Linked DNA regions of Homo sapiens: region 1 is linked to region 2. The links are contacts of gene promoters, found by promoter capture Hi-C in human tissues and cell types (Jung and others, 2019). All regions are on one chromosome and are shown on one strand. Each heading gives the region's core, a stretch centred on a gene start or on the middle of the fragment in contact. The rest is flanking DNA. Distances are from core to core; before and after follow the strand shown.

Region 1 (6,628 bases), core at 980-3,479, 89 kb after region 2:
TTTGACATTCCAGTGGAGGGAGCCAGACAAAGAACAACAACAACAACAAAAAAGACAGTAAAATGTGGGAGAATGAAAGAATATAACAGAGGGATGTGTTGGAGGGTGAATGAGGGCGGGGGGTGGTGCTGTTATTTTAGATTGAGTAGTTAGAAAAGTTATCCCTGAGGAGCTGAAAGTTAAGCTGAGGTTTGAATGACTAGGGTAGGGCATTTCAGGCAATGTGAAGAACGAGAATGGAGACTGTGGAAGAGGATTGAGCTGGTACAGTAAGGCACAGAAAGGAGACCATCATGATGAGGAAATGGTGAGCATAAGAAGGAAAAGTATAAGGCAACATTAGAGAGGTAGGCAGATGTTATCCAGCTCATGGCATTTGGAGGTTATTCTCAGTGTGTAATTATAATGTCAACAATTGTAATCTTCAGGTCGTTCTGGCTATTGTGTGGAGAATGGGTTTGAGGGAGGCAAGTATAGGAGCAAGGAGAACAGTTTGAAGATGTTGCAGTACCAAGTACAAAAGATGATGTTGGTAACTTTGCCTGGTGGAGAGTGGGAGGAGGAGACCGTAGTAAGAAGAATTCAGAGAACTTGACATGTATTTTGATGGTGGAGACATTTAGACTTGCTGATAGACACGATGTCTTAAAAACTCCTAAGATTTTAGATGAAATAGCTATGTATGGAAGTGTAATTTATTAACATTATGAAGACCCAAACAAGATAAGGTGGTGATTGGAAAAAAACTATGCTTTTTTAAAGGTACATTTAATTTTCACATAGGAAATATATTTGCATGGTTAAGCATTTTTAAAAAGTAGAAATGAGGCCACTTTTTTTGCACCTACCACAATTAGTTTATTCTCAATTTATTCAAAGAGATTCTTTAGAAAAAAAATACATGCTGAGCTATTCTATTAAAAATATTTGTTTATAATCCTTTAATTTGAGTGGCAGTTTTCTCAGACATAAAGCCACTGAGTTATATTTTCTTGCCTGAAAAATTTGTAGGTTTTGACCCAGTGCCACTTCCATTTTAAAAATGCTAGTTAATTATTTTCTGGAGAAATGTATGAGTGACAGTCCTATGATGTTTTGTCATCTACAAAATTGAAAATGTATTTCCTTACTTTACAAAAAGTTTTGGGTGTTTTTCATTTGGAAAGCTTACTACATAGGTAAGCAATTAGGGACTGATTATTAAAGGTCCTTGGTCTCAGGGATTTGACATGCCAGTGGAGTTGACATTCCAGCAACTAGATTGCTACTCAGTGAGAACCTTATAGGTAATACCTCTCTAAATCCTGGTAATGAAAACCTCTTTCTCTGGGATGGTTTTCATTTTCTTCTTTGTATGTTTCATGTTATTAATTTTAGTAAAATGAGATTTTAGTTTGTACTTTAAGAAATAGTATCACTAGTTTATTTTGAAAAATAAATTGTATCAATGTTTACAAAACCTAATAGCAAACAGTCATATTTTGCTCAGGATAGCAAACAAGGCACAAATAGGTGCCAAATAGATTCCAGTGTTTCAGACAAGTCAGTTCTTGATAGTGTAACATGATGTTTGATTAAAAATTTTATTTTATTTAATGGTAAATTACTGATATTGAACACAGATGGTAATCAGTAATTTAAAAAAAAGTAGAGGAGAAACCCACCCAAATTTAAAATCACATTGATAAAACTTAGAGAATTGGGGGAATCTTTGTTTTACAGGCAGGTTGACTGGCTAATTTGGAGGCAGCAATACAAATTAAAGGACTAGCTATGGGCTGTTCTCTAACATCTATACTTATTTGCATATTCTTGGGATGCAGGGTGGGTTCAACATAGGCAAATCAATAACTGTGATTCACCATATAAACAGAATTAAAAACAAAAATGGTATAATCATCTTAATGACACAGAAAAAGCTTTTGATACAGTTCATCATTGGTTCATGAGAAAAACACTCAAGAAACTAGGCATTTATAGAAGGAACATACCTCAAAATAATAAGATCCATTTATGTCATACCCACTGCCAACATCTTACTGAATGGGAAAAAGCTGGAAGCATTCCCCTTGAGAAATGGAACAAGACAAGGATGTCTATTCTCATCATTCCTATTCAACATAGTGCTGGGAAACTGAGCCAGAGCCATCAGGCAAGAGAAAGAAATAAATTACATCCAAATAAAAAAATAAAATATCAAATTACCTTTGTTTGGTGATTATATAACACTAAACATAGAAAACTCTAACTCCACTAAAAGGCTCCAAGGACTGATAAATGATAAATATACCAGAATCAGCAGCATTTCTATACAGCACTAACATTCAGGTTGAGAGACAAATCAAGAATGCAATCTCATTTACAATAGCTCTGCACACACACACACACACACACACACACACACACACACACAACCCAACAACATGTAAAAGCATATCTAACCAAGGAGGTGAAATATCCCTACAAGGAACTACAAAACACTATTGAAAGAAATCATAGCCTACAGAAACAACTGGGAAAACATTCCATGCTCATTGTTTGGAAGAATCAATATTGTTAAAATGGTCATACTGCTCAAAGTAATGTACAGATTCAATGCTGTTACTATCAAATTACCAATGCCATTCTACACAAAATTAGAAAAAAATCCTAAAATTGATATGGAACAAAAAAGATCCTGAATAGCTAAAGCAATTCTAAGCAAAAAGAACAAAGCTGGAGGCATCACATTACCTGACTACTATACTACAAGGCTAAAGTAGCCAAAAGGCATGATACTATGCAAAAACAGACACATAGACCAATGAAATAGGATAGAGAACTCAGAAGTAAAGCCTCACACATACAACCATCTGATTTTTGACAAAGTTGACAAAAGCAAGCAGTGGGAAGAGGACTCCCTATTCAACAAACAGTACTGAGATAACTGGCTAGCCATCTGCAGAAGACTGAAACTGGACCCCTTCTGTATTAGTCTGTTCTCACTCTACTAATAAAGACATACCTGAAGCTGGGTAATTTATGAATAAAAGAGGTTTAATTGACTCAGTTCCACATGGCTTGCGAGGCTTCACAATCATGGCAGAAGGCAAAAGAGGAGCAAAGTCATGTCTTACATGGCAGCAGGCAAGAGAGTGTATACAAGAGAACTCTCCTTTATAAAACCATCAGATCTCATGAGATTTATTCACTATCATGAGAAAAGCATGGGAAAGACCGACCCCCAAGATTCAATTATCTTCCACCAGTCCCTCCTCTAACACATGGGAATGATGGGAGCTACAATTTATTTATTTATGTATTTATGTATTTATTTATTTATTATGGGCCGGGCACGGTGCCTCATGTTTGTAATCCCAGCACTTTGGGAGGCTGAGCTGGGTGGATGTCTTGAGCCCAGGAGTTTGAGTCTAGCCTGGGCAACATGGTTAAACCTCATATCTACTAAAAATACAAAAAGTTAACCAGGCACCGTGGTGCAGCTACTTTGTAGGCTGAGGTAGGAGGATCACCTGAGCCTGGGAAGTCAGGCCAGGCTCCCAGGCCTGGCCCATAAAAAAGCTTTCTATAGGTTTTTTTTTAAAATTTATTATACTTTAAGTTCTGGGATACATGTGCAGAATGTGCAGGTTTGTTACACAGGTATACAAGTGCCACGGTGGTTTGCTGCACTCATCAACCCATCATCTATGTTTTAAGCCCTGCATGAATTAGGCATTTGTCCTAATGCTCTCTCTCCCCTTCCCTGCCAACCCCCAACAGGCCCCAGTGTGTGATGTTCCCCTCCCTGTGTCCATGTATTCTCATTGTTCAACTCCCACTTATGAGTGAGAATATACAGTGTTTGGTTTTCTGTTCTTGTGTTAGTTTGCTGAGAATGATGGTTTCCAGCTTCATCCATGTCCCTGCAAAGGACATGAACTCATTCTTTTTATGGCTGCATGGTATTCCATGGTGTATATGTGCCACATTTTCTTTCAGTCTATCATTGATGGGCATTTGGGTTGGTTCCAAGTCTTTGTTACTGTAAATAGTGCTGCAGTAAACATACATGGACATGTGTCTTTATAGTAGAATGATTTGTAATCCTTTGGGTATATACCCAGTAATGGGATTGCTGGGTCAAATAGTATTTCTGGTTCTAGATCCCTGAGGAATCATCACACTGTCTTCCACAATGGTTGAACTAATTTACACTCCCACCAACAGCGTAAAAGCGTTCCTATTTCTGATTGGAGCTACAACGTAAGATGAGTTTTGGGTGGAGACACAGTCAAACCGCATCACCTTCCTTTCAGTATATACAAAAATTAACTCAAGATAAAGGAAAAACTTACATGTAAGGCCTAAAACTATTACAATCCTAGAAGGAAACCTATTAAATATTATTCTGGACATTGATCTTAGGAAAAATTTATGATGACATCCACAACGCAATTGCAATAAGAATAAAAACTGGCAAGTGAGACCCAATTAAACTAAAGAGCTTCTACAGCAGAAGAAAATATCAAGAACAAATAACTTACAGAATGGAAGAAAATATTCACAAGCTATGCATTTGACAAAGGTATAATATCCAGAATCTATAAGAAACTTAACGTAACAAGCAAAAACCAAACAACCTCATTAAAAAAGTGGGCAAAGGATATGAACAGATACTTCTCAAAAGAAGACATACATGCAGCCAACAAACATATGAAAATGTACTCAACATCACTAATCATCAGAGAAATGCAAATCAAAACCCCAATGAAATACCATCTCACACCACCAAAATGGCTATTATTAAAAGTTCAGAAAACAACAGATATTGATGAGACTACAGAAAAAAGAGAACACTTATACACTATTGAAGGGAATGCAAATTAGTTCAGCTCCTTTGGAAAGCACTTTGGAGATTTCTCAAAGAACTCCCCATTCAACCCAGCAATCCCATTATTGGTTATATACCTGAAGGAAAATAGATTACTATACCAAAAAGACACATGCATTCATATGTTCATCACTGCACTGTTGACAATAGCAAAGACATGGAATCAACAAAATGCCCATCAACAATGGACTGGACAAAGAAAATGTCATACATATACACCATGGAATACTATCCAGCTATAAAAGGAATGAAACGGTGCCCTTTACAGAAACATGGATGCAGCTGGTGGTCATTATCCTAAAGGAAATTAATGCAGGAACAGAAAACCAAATATCATGTGTTCTCACTTACAATTGGGAGCTAAACATTGGGTGCGCATGGATATAAAGATGGGAACAAAGGATGCTGGGAATTAATAGAGTTGGGACAGTGGGAAAGGGTTGAGAGTTGATAAACTATTAAATGACAAAACCACAATTACTTTTGCACCATCCTAATACCTATTGGGTACTATGTTCACTACATGAGTACCGGGATCAGTCATACCCCTAATCTCAGTATCACACAATATATCCATGTAATAACACTGCACATATACCCTCTGAACCTATAACAAAAAATGAAGAAAGAAAAACAGCTATGTCTACTATTATTCCACACTGGACCATGAGGGGCAAACTTAGTTCTCCATGAATAGTTAGAATATCTTCAGACAAATAGAACCTCTGTTATTTTTATTATTCACTCATTTTTATTCATTCATAATGAAATTATGGCAGAGTTTCTCTCAAATGCTGAACACACTACCTGGCCTGATAAGAAGACTATAGCTACATGTATTCATATGAAAGGACCTATCTCTGTGATGACTGTGTTCCTCAGTTTAAACTGGAAAGTTGATACACATAGACAAAGACAGACTAAGAGTTAACCACACCTATTCCAAAATTGACCACATACTGGGAAGTAAAGCTCTCCTCAGAAAATGTAAAAGACAGAAATTATAACAAACTGTCTCTCAGACCACAGTGCAATCAAACTAGAACTTAGGATTAAGAAACTCAAAACTGCTCAACTACATGGAAACTGAACAACCTGCTCCTGAATGACTACTGGGTACATAACGAAATGAAGGCAGAAATAAAGATGTTCTTTGAAACCAACGAGAACAAAGACACAACATGCCAGAATCTCTGGGACACATTCAAAGCAGTGTGTAGAGGGAAATTGATAGCACTAAATGCCCACAAGAGAAAGCAGGAAAGATCCAAAATTGACACCCTGACATCACAATTAAAAGAACCAGAAAAGCAAGAGCAAACACATTCAAAAGCTAGCAGAAAGCAAGAAATAATTAAAATCAGAGCAGAACCGAAGGAAATAGAGACACAAAAAACCCTTCAAAAAATTAATGAATCCAGGAGCTGGTGTTTTGAAAGGATCAACAAAATTGATAGACCACTAGCAAGACTAATAAACAAAAAAAGAGAGAAGAATCAAATAGACACAATAAAAAATTATAAAGGGGATATCACCACCGATCCCACAGAAATACAAACTACCATCAGAAAATACTACAAACACCTCTACGCAAATAAGCTAGAAAATCTAGAAGAAATGGATAAATTCCTTGACACATACACTCTCCCAAGACTAAACCAGGAAGAAGTTGAATCTCTGAATAGATCAATAACAGGATCTGAAATTGTGGCAATAATCAATAGCTTACCAACCAAAAAGAGTCCAGGACCAGAT
Region 2 (6,417 bases), core at 533-3,032:
AAGCCGGGAGGCGGAGATTGCAGTGAGCCAAGACTGTGCCACTGCACTCCAGCCTGGGCAACAAGAGCGAAACTTCGTCTCAGAAACAAACAAACAAACAAACAAACAAAAATATGTATATTTTCTGAATTGAAAATATCTCACTTTTTTTTTTTTTTTTTTTTTTTTTTTTTTTAAGATGCAGTCTTGCTCTATCATGCAGGCTAGGGGGCAGTGGCGTGATATCAGCTCACTGCAAGCTTAGCCTCCCAGGTTCAAGCAATTCTCATTCCTCAGCCTCCTGAGTAGCTGGGATTACAGGTGTGTGCCATCACGCCCAGCTAATTTTTGTATTTTTAGTAGAGACAGGGTTTCATCATATTGCCCAGGCTGGTCTCGAATTCCTGATCTCAGGTGATCCTCCCGCTTTGGCCTCCCAAAGTGCTGGGATTACAGTCGTGAGCCACCGTGCCCAGCCAGATCTCACTCTTTTGAAAGGTTTCAGTACACATGCAATTGATTTCTTCTGTCAGCTAAGATTAAAACTAGCAAAGATACATCACAGAAAAATAATATACGTATATATACACCCACCCACCACATAACTACTCAGTGAGGCCACATATGTTTAAAATGTTTTATTGAGCATTGGCATTTATCATTAATGAGCTGAATTTAACTGCTAAGGAACTGTGAAAGATAAGTCTGTCTACCTGAGTGTGAGCCAGAACATACTACTGAAGCTACTCTCTATAGTTATAAAAAATTAAGGTCAGAAGTGGCCAATTTGGCTTCTTTTTCAAAGATATCTCAGTTTTGGCTAACTGTTAACCCCAGGACTCTCTTTAGAGCATCTTTCATGTCTTTGTTTCGAAGACTATAGATAAGGGGATTTAAGAATGGAGTCATTGCTGTGTATACCAGAGTGATGATCTTCTGCATTCCTGCTGGGTTCCCTGATGTTGGGCTCACATACATCACCATAAGGGTTCCATAGAATAGAGACACCACCATTAGGTGGGACCCACATGTGGAGAAAGCTTTAGTTCGACCAGCACCAGAGGGAATACAAAGCACAGCTCTGATGACCAGAGTGTAAGATCCCAAGATGGAGAGGAAGGGCCCAAAGATAATCATCGAGTTGAAGGTGTAACAGATAAGCTCAGTGGAAGGAGCAGAGATGCAGGCCAGTGCAAACAATGGGCCTGGGTCACACACCAAGTGGTCAATGATGTTGGGCCCACAGAAGGGAAGTTGGGAGATAAGAACAATAGGGACTGGATAGCAGAGAAATCCGCCTACCCAGCATACACAGACCAGAATTATACAGAACTTCCCAGTCATGATGGAGGGGTAGTGTAATGGACGACAGATGGCCAGGTACCGATCATAAGCCATAACTGATAAAAAGAAACACTCTGTTGTACCCAGTGAAAAAAAGAAATAGAATTGCAGGAAGCAACCAGAGAAGGAGATGGTTTTAATCTCAGAGAGGATATTGACTAGCATGTTTGGGACAGTGGAGGAAATGTACCAGATCTCTAGAAAGGCAAAGTTTCCCAGAAGGATGTACATGGGTGTGTGGAGCCGCCTGTCCAATTTCACTGCACAGACAATAGCTCCATTCCCTAGCAGTGTCAGGAGATAGAGAACCAGGATGAATGAGAAGAAGCAGCTCTGCATCTCCCTTTGACCATGGAAACCCAGGAGGACAAACTCAGTCACAAAATGCATTGTTCTGTTCTGGGGTCCCAAAGCTGTTAGAAAAACAGAAGTAACCAAAGAATGAATAATAAAGAACATTTGGAGATTTTGCTAACTCATGCTGGATGATGTACTAAGTATTTTTACATACATTATCTCATTTGGTCTTCCTAATGACTCTTTGAGCTGCGAGGAGGTATTCTTTACCCTTCTCTTTCACAGACAGGGTAATTGAAGTTCAAAGAGATTAGAAGGGTTCACTTAAACATATGTACAAAGCCAGTAACGCCCAGATACACTGGCCTATTTGGAGATTGGTTTGGAACAAATCATGTTTCACTTCAAATTTTCTATAACCCTGAGTCTCAGTAATGTTTCATCTTTAATGGTAAAATCACTGCCCCTTAGATACTCTACATATAAATATAAACTTTGGATATATTCTTTTACTTTAAAGCAAAATTGAGTATAAATCTGAAGCAAGAATAGTTGCTATATTAAAATTGCCTTCTTAGAGCCTCATATGTAGAAGTCCAATAAAAAGCAGATAGGAATTAAACTTTGGGGAGTCTTCAGCTCCCTTCCTTTTGCTACTCTCAGGGAGGTGCTGCAGAACCCTTAGGAATCTGTAAAATGGTCTGAAAGCTACAAATCTAGTTCCCCCCAGATCACATTCTCCCTGGTGGCATCTGGATTTGCTGAATAATCCAGCCCCTTTTTCTCGTGAGGAGCTCTAGTTCTCTCAAAGCCCTTCTTTATGGTGAGCAAACTTTGTATCCTTTATTACTTTTACCCATTGATCTTGGTACTCCCCAAGTCAGCAGGTAAACTTTGACTTTGTTGAAACTACACAAAATAAGTCTAATTCCTCTCCCATGATGGTGGTAGTGAGGTCTTAAATAACTGAAGGCAGCTGTTATGTCCCTTACCTATGACTTCTTTGGCAGGCCACCATTTTCCCTGCTTGTCAGCCTCCTTCTCCAACAAATTGTACTATTCTACATCATGACTTAGCTCTTGAGGGAGCTTGCTGTTGGGTAAATCAATTTCTCTAGTAATAAAGCCATGTGCCTTTATTTTTGCTAGAAATTAAGTCCTAAACTTTATAATTTGTCCCTTCATTATCTTGCTTTTCCATAAATTAAATAATGAATAAAAGAGTCACCTCAGGATGTGCAGAGAACAGAAAGATCTTTCTGATATTTTCTAAATCAGGAGTTGAGACAAGATAAATAACTTAGATATTTTGCTAACAATTTTCTAGAAACTATTGGTCCAGCAGGCTTATTTCTGTGTCCTCAAATATCCTTGTTAAAGTTCAGAATATTTGGCTGGGTAAGCCACTATCAATATTTTAAATTTAGCAATATAATGACTTTAAAATTAGGATAATTTATTGTATTATTAGCGTCACTGTTAAGATACTCACAAAATTCCATCTTTACATCATTTATATGATCCACAGAGAGCGAGAGGCCTGCCTTTCAGTACTTGATCAAACCTGGAGCAAACCCAAAAGCATAAATGTTTTATTGCCGAGGTAACTTTGGATATTCATGTTAACAATATTTTAAGAATAATACAACAATTTCTCTAATAAACATGATTTTTAGGAAAATGTAAATTTTGTCCAAGCAGTTCAGTTTAATGAATAATAATTATCATGATCACATGCATCAGAATTTTTAGGACAGTTGTAATTACTCTCAAATATACTCTCCATAACTGCTTGTATTTCCCACACTACATGCTATGTCATTCTTGGAAAATATAATTACTGGGCTTGCAATTTAAAAAAACGGTTGGCAGTTAGAATGGCGATCATTAAAAAGTCAGGAAACAACAGGTGCTGGAGAGGATGTGGAGAAATAGGAACACTTTTACACTGTTGGTGGGACTGTAAACTAGTTCAACCCTTGTGGAAGTCAGTGTGGCGATTCCTCAGGGATCTAGAACTAGAAATACCATTTGACCCAGCCATCCCATTACTGGGTATATACCCAAAGGACTATAAATCATGCTGCTATAAAGACACATGCACATGTATGTTTATTGCGGCACTATTCACAGTAGCAAAGACTTGGAACCAACCCAAATGTCCAACAATGATAGACTGGATTAAGAAAATGTGGCACATATACACCATGGAGTACTATGCAGCCATAAAAAATGATGAGTTCATGTCCTTTGTAGGGACATGGATGTAGCTGGAAACCATCATTCTCAGCAAACTACGGCAAGGAAAAAAACCAAACACTGCATGTTCTCACTCATAGGTGGGAATTGAACAATGAGAACACATGGACACAGGAAGGGGAACATCACACACCAGGACCTGTCGTGGGGTGGGGGGAGGGGGGAGGGATAGCATTAGGAGATATACCTAATGTTAAATGATGAGTTAATGGGAGCAGCACACCAACATGGCACATGTATACATATGTAACAAACCTGCATGTTGTGCACATGTACCCTAAAACTTAAAAGTATAAAAAAAAAGTTTCTAAAACAAAAGAAATAAAAAATAAAAAAAGGTTGGATGTTAAATTTAAATCGTAGCATTTCATGTATTTATTTGTTTATTCAAGAATTTAATTTAACACATGTTTATTCACCATTTATTATATTGCTAGCAGTGTGTTGAGTTCTGGGGTTATAATGGTGAATATACAAAATAAAATTCCTCCCCTTTTGGAACTCAGGTTTTATAAAAACTATCAAGATTACAACCTATATCTGCACAGTCATGTGCATAGGCTGGGGGTTCCTTGAGCTGTGTATTTTTGCAGCACGTCCAACTGCATGCTGTGGGTCTGAAAAAAGATATTTACTCCAGTTAGAAATAACTTGAATAAATCTTTGTAGTACAGGGGACATGATAACAAATTTTGCTTGGCATAAATTAGATAATTAGATATTTTGGGCTTTTCAAGGCAGTAGGTAGAGAATGAGACATGAATTAATTTATCCTACTCACAGGCCAGGAAATTTTTGGTACTGAGAAAAGAAATATAATTCCAACTGATGATAATTGATCTGGAACCGGACCTCATAATTGACTCCTTCCTGCTTATTATTATTAATTATTTTTGAGACAGAGTCTTGCTATGTGGTCCAGGCTGGAGTGCAGTGGCGTGATCTCCCTGCACTGTGTGATCACTGTAACCTCCGCCTCCTGGGTTCAAGGGATTCTCATGCCTCAGCCTCCTGAGTAGCTGGCATTACAGGCTTGGGCTACCACACCCGGCTAATTTTTTTTTTTTTGGAGACAGAGTCTCACTGTATCCCCCAGGCTGGAGTGCAGTGGCATGATCTCAGCTCACTGCAACCTCTGCCTCCTGGGTTCAAGCAATTCTCATGCCTCAGCCTCCCAAGTAGCTGGGATTACAGGCGCCTGCCACCACGCCCAGCTAATTTTTGTATTTTTAGTAGAGACGGGGTTTTGCCATGTTGGTGAGGCTGGTCTTGAACTCCTGACCTCATGTGATCCACCTGCTTTGGCCTTCCAAAGTGCTGAGATTTCAGGTGTGAGCCACTGTGCCCAGTCCCCACCTGCTCATTATTTGACTTCGTAATGTTCAAGACCTTGATGACATTATTTCAAACACAGTGAAATTTTAATTATCTATGGAATATAGGGTCAGAGAAAGATGGATAACTAAACTTCACAGATAATTAAAAAAACCTCACTGCATTCATTTCTATTGCCTCCATCACCAAAGTACATTTACTAGGAACTCAAATAGTAAGTTTAAATTCACCTCTTTTGTCTTTCTATTCACTTCAAGTGAGAGTACAAATGGGCAATTGGAGAGAAGAGGAGGAACAAAGCGCTTGGGCAACACATTCTATGTGAACCGACAAGGGAGCTACATCCTCCTCCAGCCCCATCCGCTTGCTGGGAATTTAAGACACTTGCCCACGGAAGAGCACTTTTAGAATTATAAGTGCTGGGGCTCTTCTCTTAAGTATTTATGTTTTAAAAATTACTCTGTAGGTGAATCCAAAGGAAAGGAGAGTCTGCTGTTCTACTTCTTTCACAAGAGGTTTTCACTTGCCATTTGTCACTTGCCAACAACTCTGAAAAAAATAACAGCTTGCTTTAATTGTTCCAGCTGAAGAAGAGTCTGTCAATAAAAACTTCAGTGACTAATTTACAAACAAGGAGGTAAAAGACTCGGTACATTCTAACTGAAGGGAATTTAATGGTCCCCCCAAATAAGCAAGAACTTTGAACATTATTTTCCCTAACTGAGTTGTATAGTGGGAACTCTGAGATACCTGAGTGAGCCCTTAATGTGAATATATCACCCGGGCATTCTTTAGGAGTATGCTGGGAGAAGAGAAGTGAGGGGCCAATGTTCGTGCAAAGAACTAAGGAACAAAGAATTCACAGATTTGCAGAAGAACCACGTATTCTTAGCATCTGGCAGCACTGAATGCACAGGAACGGTGGTGTACCGCTGCAGGCAGACTTTCCTTACATACCTAATGGCATTTTTGGTTCCAAGAGGAAGATGTGAGACAAACTCCAGCTGCAGGAATCTCGTCATTTACACAACCAAAAAGCTGAGTCATGGTTGGAGAGTGTTATTTGTGGTTCCAGAAACTTGCTTCCTTTAGTATTCCAAACCAAATGAAATGTGTTTTTCACATCAGCAATTATTAAGAGTTTACAAGTCTCTTGTGAATAGGAGCCATAGTTCCCCTGTGTTCACTGGCAGGCACCTACTT

Evidence for each region. Contacts are between HindIII fragments. The study calls those that stand out against the background at their distance.
Region 1: a fragment that was not itself captured here is called in contact with the fragment with the promoter of OR11H6 in region 2 in 4 of the 25 tissues and cell types used here (lymphoblastoid cells, mesendoderm cells, spleen and 1 more).

What each region holds. Positions count from the first base shown.
Region 1 is chr14:20,130,507-20,137,134 of GRCh38, reverse strand. No RefSeq gene overlaps it. Among named protein-coding and RNA genes, the nearest start is that of OR4N5, 5.0 kb to the left of the region's middle. The HindIII fragment of the contact is 5,982 bases long and covers 1-5,220 here.
Region 2 is chr14:20,219,075-20,225,491 of GRCh38, reverse strand. It overlaps OR11H6 (olfactory receptor family 11 subfamily H member 6), which reads right to left and starts at 1,782. Exons shown (of 1, transcript NM_001004480.1): 1 at 790-1,782. The coding sequence starts at 1,782. The coding sequence ends at 790. RefSeq lists a silencer at 4,678-4,856. The HindIII fragment of the contact is 13,960 bases long and covers 630-6,417 here.